Regions from separate parts of the Homo sapiens genome. Here region 2 is linked to region 1. The links are contacts of gene promoters, found by promoter capture Hi-C in blood cells and fetal thymus (Javierre and others, 2016). All regions are on one chromosome and are shown on one strand. Each heading gives the region's core, a stretch centred on a gene start or on the middle of the fragment in contact. The rest is flanking DNA. Distances are from core to core; before and after follow the strand shown.

What was found. The method cuts DNA at HindIII sites, captures the fragments that hold promoters and counts their contacts. A CHiCAGO score of 5 or more calls a contact.
Region 2: a fragment that was not itself captured here is called in contact with the fragment with the promoter of CACNA1S in region 1 in 11 of 17 cell types (naive B cells, megakaryocytes, naive CD4 T cells and 8 more); the score reaches 8.9 in naive B cells.

Annotation. Positions count from the first base shown.
Region 1 is chr1:201,110,516-201,115,849 of GRCh38, reverse strand. It overlaps CACNA1S (calcium voltage-gated channel subunit alpha1 S), which reads left to right and starts at 3,424. Exons shown (of 44, transcript NM_000069.3): 1 at 3,424-3,662. The coding sequence starts at 3,511. It overlaps ASCL5 (achaete-scute family bHLH transcription factor 5), which reads left to right. Exons shown (of 2, transcript NM_001270601.2): 2 at 1-1,907. The coding sequence starts at 478. The coding sequence ends at 1,098. RefSeq lists an enhancer at 77-597 and a silencer at 1,248-1,297. The HindIII fragment of the contact is 9,593 bases long and covers 1-5,334 here.
Region 2 is chr1:200,976,990-200,982,323 of GRCh38, reverse strand. KIF21B (kinesin family member 21B) reads left to right here. Exons shown (of 35, transcript NM_001252102.2): 29 at 1,228-1,364; 30 at 2,609-2,789; 31 at 4,948-5,112. Among named protein-coding and RNA genes, the nearest start is that of KIF21B, 44 kb to the left of the region's middle. RefSeq lists enhancers at 2,487-2,636, 4,461-5,334. The HindIII fragment of the contact is 669 bases long and covers 1,628-2,296 here.

The sequences.
Region 1 (5,334 bases), core at 2,175-4,674:
GCTGGCGCACTCCTAACAGCAGCCATCAGTTTGGGGACCCCGGACAGCCCGGGGATCCCGAAGGCCGCGAGGACCAAGGACCAGGCGCTGGGGTGGGTGTGGAGGACATGGAGCCCGTGGTTTAGGCCTGAGGTGCCCATGTTGGGTGGCAGCAAGAGGCAGGGTGGGCGGGTCTGTGGCCATGCCCATGGGTGCTGCGGAACGGGGTGCGGGCCCTCAGAGTTCCGCGGCGCCATGGGCTGGCTCTGAGAAGGCGTGCACCGACCTCCTGAGAGGGGCCACACTTGTCTAGGGCGATGGCTCTTGTTAGGGAGTCATTGGAAGCCACCCTAAAGGGCGAAAAGAGGCCCTAGCAAGTCCTGGTACCCAAGAGCTGCTGCTAGCGATGTGACTTGCCCCACTGGTGGAGACGGTGCAGACCCCAAGCCGGGGCCATTCGGTGGAGGCCTCGCTCTGGGTCCAGCTCCACGCGGCACCATGAACAATAACTTCTGCCGGGCTCTGGTGGACCGGAGGCCTCTGGGGCCCCCCAGCTGCATGCAGCTGGGCGTCATGCCCCCTCCCCGGCAGGCGCCCCTGCCCCCCGCCGAGCCCCTGGGCAACGTGCCCTTCCTGCTGTACCCGGGCCCAGCAGAGCCGCCCTACTACGACGCCTATGCGGGGGTGTTCCCCTACGTGCCCTTCCCCGGCGCCTTCGGGGTCTACGAATACCCCTTCGAGCCAGCCTTCATCCAGAAGCGCAACGAGCGCGAGAGGCAGCGAGTCAAGTGCGTCAACGAGGGCTACGCTCGCCTCCGCGGCCACCTCCCCGGCGCCCTGGCTGAGAAGCGACTCAGCAAGGTGGAGACGCTGCGCGCCGCCATCCGCTACATAAAGTACCTGCAAGAGCTGCTGAGCTCGGCCCCCGACGGCTCGACGCCCCCCGCTTCCCGCGGCCTCCCGGGCACCGGGCCCTGCCCCGCGCCGCCCGCCACCCCCCGTCCCGACCGCCCTGGCGACGGCGAGGCCCGGGCGCCCTCCTCCCTGGTGCCGGAGTCATCCGAGTCCTCCTGCTTCTCCCCGTCGCCTTTCTTGGAGTCGGAGGAATCCTGGCATTGATCGGGCCTGTGGCCGCCCCCGGCTTGGAGGATGATCCGCCGGCCCCGTCCCACTTTCGGGAGCAGCGGGAGGCTGTTGGGTCACCCGCGATGCGCCGCAGGACGGTGACTGTAGGAGGTCCGCGGCGCTCCCGTGTCTGCGACACCCTCCCTCCTCCACCAGCTTGGGGCGGAAGTGCAGGGCAGCGGGTACGATGGGCACGATAGAGACCTAGGAGCTCCGTGGGTGAAGCGAGGGGCAGGGCCTGGGACTGCTCCGGGCGTCCTGCGTCCCCTCCGGGGTGCAGAGGGGCTCCCCAGGACGGTCATCCCTGGGTCTGGCTCCCGCTCGGCCTCAGGTGGCTCTGCTCCGTCCTTCCTTGCCGCAGGCGCAGTCCAGTCTCTGCGAGTCCCCGGGATGCGAGCCCGACTTTGAGCCCTCGGTTACCATGCCACTGCTCTCCACCAGATGGCCTCAGATACTAGCGACTTCTTTGGGAGCACGCTTACTCCTCGAGAAAGGAACCCAGAGGAAGGGATGGGAGGCCAGATTGCTGCTGGCGCTCAGCCCAGACCGAACCTACAGACTCAGCAGAGGCGACCTGTGTGCCCCGGTGGCGTTCTCTGGCTTCCTGGGTTGGGAGGGGGGGTTACTCCCTCCCCGCATCCCCCCCATGAGGTCGTCTAGTTTTGTCCCAGGTTGGGTGGGGACTGTGGTTTTTTTCCCTCAGACTGTAAGCCTTGGGGGAGGGGGGCGTGCATATAGGTACATAGGCACTGCGTCGGCACCAAAGAGCTAAATAAAAGGATTGTTGAATTTTCTCATTCCTAGATCATTGTCTACCCTCACCCTTCCTGGTGCCCCTTTCTTATTCTCACTCCCAGCCCAGAGTACTTGCTGGGAGGATATGTGGGGTTCGCTGTTAGCTCAGCACATTTAAGATTCAGTGTTGTTAGCTCAGGCGTTCAATGAATTTTTTTTTTTTTTTTTTTTTTTTTGAGACAGGTTTTGCTCTGTTGCCCAGACTGGAGTGCAGTGATTCAATCCCTGCTCACTGCAACCTCCTTCTCCTGGGTTTGAGCAATTCTCCTGCCTCAGCCTCCAGAGTAGCTGGGATTATAGGTGCACACCACCACGCCCGCTAATCTTTGGTATTTTTAGTAGAATGCGGGTTTCACCATGTTGGCCATGCTGGTCTCGAATTCCTCACCTCAAGTTATCTACCTACCTTGGTTTCCCAAAGTGCTGGGATTACCGTGGCTATCCTCAATGAACTTTTCTTTTTGAGACAAGGTCTCACTCTGTCTCACTCTGTCATCCAGGCTGGAGTGCAGTGGCCAGATCTTGGCTCATTGCAGCCTCAACCTCCCAGGCTCAACTGATCCTCCCACCTTGGCCCCCCTAGTAGCTGGGACTACAAACACACACCACCATACCCTGCTAATTTTTGTATTTTTTGTAGAGACAGAGTTTCACTACGTTGCCCCGACTGGTCTTGAAGTCCTGAGCTCAAGCCATTCTCCCACCTCAGCCTCCCAAAGTGTTGGGATTACAGGCGTGAGCCACCATGCCTGGCCTCAGTGAACATTTACAGGGAGCATAGTACATAGGGGGACTGTGCAGAGAAGGGGCCAGAGTCCCAGAGATAATGCACACAACCTTTACACCTGTAGGGATGGGAGGAGATGGGGAAGAAAGATACACAGCAGATGCTCCACAGTGAGGCAGGTGCTATGCCAGAGGTGTGCACACTCAGGGTTGTTCTGGGAGCCTTCTAGCCCACTGGAGAGGGGTTTACTGTTTCTCTGACATGGGATTGCTTGTGGGGGTGGGTTGAGGGTATGCTTGGGGAGTTTTGGCTGATGGTGCAGATACTGAGATGGGTAGGGGCTGCTGTGGAGCTGTCCTGACTTAGGCTGCCCAGTGCCTTCTCCAGACAATGTCATGGGGCTGAGGAGGGGTAAGCCTAATTTTGGCATGAGGGGGCCACTCTGCAGTTTGAGGTTCCATATCCAAGGCTACCTATTCCTGACCTCTGTTGCCCCAGGCTTGAAACCTTCCATCCTGTCTCCCTCTCCCACTGCCCCTGCCCCATCCCAGGCCTGTGTGTAAGTTCTTCCCCCGACCCACCCCACCCTCCTCAGGGGACAGATTGGGAAGTCACTGGCTGGGCTGGGTGGAATGACAGCTGCCTGGCCTCAGAAGCTCAGGCCCGGCAGCGGGGAGCCGAGTGGAGGCTAATTTTACTTGCTGGGAGCGAGGAGAGTAATCCTCCTGCCCCCACTCCTGCCCCCGCCCCCTGGCTGGCTCAGCAGGGCAGGCTCAGCCGACAGCCTCAGCCAGCCTAGTCCCCAAGGCGGGGGCATTGGGGACACAGGGAAGGGAAAGCACTGGGGTGGGGGAGCAGGAGAAAGCCAGATTCCCAGGGAAGCCATGGAGCCATCCTCACCCCAGGATGAAGGCCTGAGGAAGAAACAGCCCAAGAAGCCAGTTCCTGAGATTCTGCCAAGGCCACCCCGGGCCTTGTTCTGCCTGACCCTGGAGAACCCCCTGAGGAAGGCCTGCATCAGCATTGTAGAATGGAAGTATCCTTCAGGGCCCGGGCCGTGGGGGGGGGTGTGCGTCATGAGGGAGGGATTCGGGGTGATCACAGAGCACAAACTTCCTACAGGAGGGCCAGGGAGGCCTGGCACTTAGACATGGGGTGAACTCACAGAATTGAGTGAGGAGCTGGGGGAAGGAGCCCTCGGCTAAGCAGGAGAGGAGGAGGAGGAAGAGGAGGAAGACGAGGAGGGTGGGGGAGGAGGAGGAAGAGGAGGAGGGTGGGGGAGGAGGAGGAAGAGGAGGAGGAGGAAGAGGAAGAGAAGGAGGACTTGGTGGGGCTTCCTGGGCCTGAGTGGGCCACCCAAGTCCTGGATGACAACCAGAGATGCCTACTGACCACCTATGGGTGGGGCCTGTTTCATGGGGACTGTTCCCATGTGTGCCCAAATCCACATTATCATGGGGTGCCACTAGGTTTTTGAAGCACCAGCCTCATTTTAGAATAGGATAGGGACCAAAAAAAGATGCGATGGCCTCTTTGAGAAAACTCTCCCTTGTTTGGGTTGGGTGGGGGGTGACAGTGGACAGAGGTGAGCTGAAGGAAGGCTTCCTCTGGGGGCAGGTCCCAGCTGAGGACAGAGCCAAGGGGAGAAATGGATCTGAAAGACACCTGGTCTCAGTGGCTCCAAGACACAGGCCAAACAAGCCTGGTTGTTCTAGCTCAGACGTGCCACCCTGGGGACAGGGACTTTGAAACTCATGCTATGTTTGCATTTGCTCTGGTGGGGAGAATGATGAAAATATCTGGGTTATTTGGGGAAGGGAGGAAGGAGTGACAGAGAGAAGGGGAGGGCTGTGTCAAGTGGGTTCTGAGAGCGAGGGTGGGGCATATTTGAAATATTTCTGAAGAGTTCTGGAAGGCTGGGCTCCTACCAGCTGTTCCCTAGAAGGAAGGAGAATGAGGGATAACTGGAAGGACAAGAGAAACGTGGGGCAAGTAGAGATAGTTTGGGGTCAGGGTCAGCCCTGTTCCCCTGACCCGCTCTCGGCCAGGCGGTATATCGCCCACATCAAACCCTCCTAGGCCCTCCCTCCTTGCCTCTCTTCTGCAATCAGGTTTACTCTGTGGGTTCTCCCTCTCCTCCATCCTCTGCTCCTCTGCGCCCTGCCCCTGTGGCCCTCCTCTTTTCTCAAACACTGGAGGTTACTGGGAAGAGAATGGGATTTTTCTGTCAAGCCCAACTACGTAATATGCCTCCCCATCCACCCCCAAACAACTCCCTCGCTTCCTCCCTTGCTTTCTCTAGCTCTTTCCAGACTTGCTGCCTAATGGGCCAGAAAGTCGAGAAAGCCATGGGCCTGGGGTACCCTCTGGAAATGGCTGTGGCGGGGTGGGTGTGTCTGGGAGGGGTGAGGTGTGATGGGTGTGAGCACGTGCACACCAGCATGTGCACATGGCTCTGGAAATTCAGCATTCATCTCTCCATCTCTCCTTCCCAGTCCTACTCAGTGAGTTCTCAACCTTACCCTGCATCAACCCTTACCCTCCCATGCCATTTATCTGGGTAAGCCTCTGTGGATTGGCCAGAATCTGCCAAAGTCATGGCTCCTTGGGAGCAGGCAAGGGCATGGACAGGCGCTGAGAGTGGAGCGGTGTGAAGACCCCCTAGGCCTTAAAGCTGAGGAGCCCTCAGCCAGGGACCAGACCTTTGC
Region 2 (5,334 bases), core at 713-3,212, 130 kb after region 1:
GAGTGTCGACAACTGGTTTACTGTGAATCATGAGGCTTTGCCACCACAAGATGTTAGCCAGCTGGCCAGGCTGTCATCGGGGGGAGCATGATCCCTTTGACATAGTTCTGTGGCCATGCAGTGAAGCCAAACCATTGTCAGAAGCAGGGTGCTGGAGCAGCTTGGGGAGCTATTTGTGCATGTGTGGCACCTGGCTGGCAGCTGGACGTATCCGACCACCATCCTCAAGGGTGGGCCTGGCAGAGTCTGGGGGGAGCTGTGCCAGAAGCGCCACAGGCAAAACCTTGATCATTTCAGTAGACCCTTGGCCAGAGTCACTGTCAGGAGCAGCTTTCTCTTGGGAAAAGAAACAAAGCTAGGATATATTTTCAGACATGACTCAGCCAGGGTCTCATCCCAAAAGACCCTCACTGAGAAAAAAATCATCTTCAGAACCTCAGGAAGCTGGATGTGGCAAAACCCTCACGCTCACTTGGGCCAGCCTCCTTCTCGCTCCCCTAGCATCATGGGAGCGAGGAGGTGTTGTTCCAGGTCCATACAGCCCCATTCCAGAGAGCCCCAAACCTCCTACCCAAAGCCAAGCCAGCCCCAAAGGGATTTAGCCCTTCGTAAATGCCAGTCACAAGTTTGACCCCGCTGGTCCAAAAGGAGTGTGTATGTGTACACATGGCTCTCTGCTTGGAAGATGCTAGCCTCAGAGGCAGTTACCAGCAGAAGGGTTTACTGGGATCAGGGTGCATGGGGGTGATGGCCTGAGCAACCCTCCCTCTCAGCACCCCTCCCTCACACTCGGTTAACTGAAGCAGCATGCAGCTTCTGGTGGAAGCTACAGGGCCCAGTTCCAGCCCCTGGGCCTCTGCCCTGCCCAGCTGGACCCGGGCGCATTCACATCTCAGGATCTGGGTCAGACATTGTCAGATAGGAACTCTCTGTGGACAGAGCCCACACCTCCTGCACCTTCTAGCTGTGCCTAACACCGGGTTTGCTTCCCCAGAAGTGCTCAGGATGGCAACTGATGATTGCTGATTAAGACAGGCTATCTCCACTCTGTGTAGCCCGTTCCCGGCTCTCAGACCTTGGTGGAATTTGGCTGGAGTCCTTAAAGTCTCTGTTATTTGGTCCTCATCCCCTCCCTGCCCTGTCCCCATCCCACACACGTGCCTTGATCAGCCTGGCCACAGTCTCCCTGGCTGACGAGCATGCCTTCTCTCCCTCTCTCCCGGGAAGGGGCATCATCTCCCCGGTTGGAGGAGCCAAGGGTGCACGGACGGCCCCACTGCAGTGTGTCTCCATGGCCGAAGGCCACACCAAGCCCATCCTCTGCCTGGATGCCACAGATGAGTTGCTATTCACAGGGTCCAAAGGTATGTGGAACGCCAACTAGCCAGGTAGGGTTGGGGTCTCCTACTCACCCCTGCTTCCTTTGTCAGAGTGGTCTGTGAAGGAGAAAAGAACATAGAGCCCCCAGGAGTTGAGGATATGGGGTCTATTTGCTTACTACCCTTGTTTCTTACCTTGGCTCAAGGCCCCCATCCCATGCATCCTTGGCCAAGCCTTCCCTCATACCTGACCTGGTGGCTCCATCCAGCACTTCCTTCCAGACCTTCCAGGGAAACTTCAGGAAGCTTCTTGGGTGCCCCACCTGTACTTGCACTGCCCAACATCACCCCAGCTCATACATCTAGGCACTCCCTATGATCTCAGCAGCAGCACTTTACAAAGTCACGCTCACCTGATTACAGCAACAAAGTCAAACATTTTACCAGCAGATAGGCTGGGCACAGTGGCTCATACCTGTAATTGCAGCACTTTGGAAGCATGAGGCAAGAGAATTGCTTAAGCCCAGGAGTTTGAGACTACCTGCGTGGGCAAATAGTGAGATCCTGTCTCTACAAAAAATAAAAAATTAGTCACAATGACATGTGCCTGTAGCCCCAGCTACTCAGGAGGCTGAGGTGGGAGGATCGTTTGAGTCCGGGAGGTCAAGGCTGCAGTGAGCTGTGTTTGTGCAATTACACTCCAGCCTGGGCAACAGAGCAAGACCCTATCTCAATAAGCAAATACAAAATTCTTTATTTACTCTTTCATTCATTCATTTTACCGACAGAAAGAACTAGTCTGTAATAGACACGCATACTATAACACAAGCATAAATATAGCTCTCCACGGCAGTAGGGGGATAGCTGTCAATCTAGGTGTGATTGATTGATTCCAAGTTTTCCCATAACATTTGCTTGCACTGGTTCATTTGCTTTGTCAGCAATTAGTGTTTGGAGGAACAGGCACCATAAAAGCTTAAGAATTTTATTTTAGCCCTGGACACCTTAGCAGTATGGCTCACAAAACTCTGGTGTTAGTGGAAAGTTTGCTTGAGGAACCCTGGTCTGAAGTTCTGAGGGAATTCTCTCTTCCCTGAGTTTTTTACTAGCACACACATGCCAGTGAGCACATGTGTATGTGTTTTTTTCCTCTTCAGACCTGGAGCTCCGTCCTCTGGAGCCCTGTGGATCCCTTTCCCCTATCCTGGGCAGCCCCTGCAGAGGTGGAGCTGCGCCCCCTAGTGGCTGACATCCCTCCCCTCCCTGTGGCTTCCTCCCATCTCTCACAGACCGAAGCTGCAAGATGTGGAACTTGGTTACGGGACAGGAGATCGCAGCTCTAAAGGGCCACCCCAACAACGTGGTCTCCATCAAGTACTGCAGCCACTCGGGGCTTGTGTTCTCCGTGTCCACCTCCTACATCAAGGTGTGGGACATCCGGGACTCAGCCAAGTGCATTCGGACTCTCACGTGAGTAACCCCCGCCTGCCTCACAGTGGTCGGCTGCAGCAGGCTGTGTTGGGTACAGATGCTCCCAGCCCAAGTGACCCACTCAGCACAGCACAGCCCGGCTACATGGGCACAGAGACCATTACCAGCCTATGAACTTGGCTTGACCCTGGGGTACAAGGTGAGATCTCTTGGTTTGGGAGACAGTGTCTGGGGCAGCACCACTAGAGGAATTTTTGGCCTGCCTGGCCTCCACCCACAGCCCAGTCCCCCAAGCCCTGCCCCTTGAGGTGTGTTAGATATCATCCTATGAGTCTGAAAGAGGAGCTAGGAAACAGGGTGAGCCTCCAAAGCCATGCTGGCCACTGCCTGTGTAGGCGACCACCCAGTCATGGCCCTGAGCCCTGCCCCGACAGTCTCAGACACACAGGCATAGGGCAGGGGAGGCAGAACTGAGACCAAGAGCCTTGCAAAATAAAGTGGTTTTTTTTAGCAGAAGTCATGCTACATCCTTACATTAACACTGTAAGCTACAGTCTATTAATTTGATCCTTAAGAAGTAAACAGGCTGGGCACAGTGGCTCATGCCTATAATCCTAGGTATTTTGGAGGCTGAAGCAGGAGGATCACTTGAGACCAGGAGTTCAAGACCAGCCTGGGCAACACAGGGAGACCCTGTCTCTACAAAAAAAAAATTTTTAGTTAGCTGAGCATGGTGGTGCATGCCTGTAGTCCCAGCTACTCAGGAGGCTGAGGTGGGAGGGTTGCTTGAGCCCAGGAGGTCGAGACTGTAGTGAGCCATGTTTGTGCCACTGCACTCCAATCTGGGTGACAGAGCAAGACCCTGTTTCAAAAAATAATAATAATGAATAAAGTAAACAGAGGGTTTTTAGGGCAGTAAAATTATTCTGTATGATGCTGTAATGGTAGATGCATGCCATTATACATTTGTTCAAACCCTTAGAATGTGCAACACCAAGAGTGAACTCTAACATAAACTATGGACTTGGGCAATAACAATATGTCAACATGGGTTCATAATCGAAACACAGGCAGCTTTCTGGTGGGGGGTGTTGATAATGGGGGAGACTGTGCCTGTGTGGGAGCAGGGGCATGTGAGAAATCTCTATCTTGTGCTTAGTTTTCTTGTGAGCCTAAAACTGGCCTTAAAAAAAAAAATAAAGTCTTAAAAAAAAAAAGTAAACAAGGCTGGGCGCAGTGGCTCACACCTGTAATCGCAGCACTTTGTGAGGCCGAGGCGGGCAGATCACCTGAGGTCGGTAGTTCAAGACCAGCCTAACCAACATGATGAAACCCCGTCTCTACTAAAAATACAAAATTAGCCAGGCATGGTGGCGCATGCCTGTAATCCCAGCTACTCAGGAGGCTGAGGCAGGAGAATTGCTTGAACCTGGGAGGCAGAGATTGCAGTGAGCCGAGATCACACCATTGCACTCCAGCCTGGGCAACAAGAGTGAAACTCCATCTCAAACAAACAAACAAACATAAATAAATGTAAACAGGCTGGGTGCAGTGGCTCACGCCTGTAATCCCAGCACTTTGGGAGGCTGAGGCAGGCAAATCACCTGAGGTCGGGAGTTCGAGACCAGCCCGACCAATATGAAGAAACCCCGTCTCTACTAAAAATACAAAATCAGCTTGGGATGGTGGCGCATGCCTATAATCCCAGCTACTCGGGAGGGTGAGGCAGGAGAATCGCTTGAACCCGGGAGGCAGAGGTTGCAGTGAGCCGAGATCATGCCATTGCGCTCCAGCCTGGGCAACAAGAGCGAAACTCCATTCAGAAAAAAAAAAAAAAATAGTAAACAGAATGGATATAATCACCTCTTTTAACAGATGAGGAAACCGAGACTCAGAGAGGTTGATTTCCGGAAGATCCATGTTCACACCCACTCTCATGACTGAGCCTTACCATCTTTCCAAGCCAGTGACCAGGCACATGGGCAGGCCACATGGGGAGTTGACTCATAGGGGACTAGAGTGGAGCTCTCCCCTGGGTCTCACTTATGGGAGAAGCTATTGCTCTTCTCTGTCAGTCAAGGAAGACTTCCTGGAAGAAGTAGGTTATTTGGGCTGGTCTTAGTGACGTTTTATTGGTTTCCTGCACTGTGCACATGGATTGTTTTGACCTCTGGCCTTGCCTTTCTCCGATGGGCAGGTCCTCGGGCCAGGTGATCTCAGGGGATGCCTGTGCCGCCACATCCACCCGTGCCATCACCAGTGCTCAGGGCGAGCATCAGATCAACCAGATCGCCCTCAGCCCTTCGGGCACCATGCTGTACGCCGCCTCGGGCAATGCCGTCCGCATCTGGGAGCTTAGCAGGTCAGCGTGATACCTGGGGAGGGAGGAGGGTTTGGCATTCCCAGGCAAGGTCCCCAGGTCTTGGTTCAGGGGGACCCACCCCAGGGTGGGTAGGACCTCAGCAACACCTTTATTCCCCCCATGCTGCTGGGCCTGTGCCCTCTCCAGTGAGACTGCTGGGATGCAGGGTAGCTCATGTCTAGATTCTTGATCTTGCCTTGAGCGAGAGGGGAGGGTGAGTAC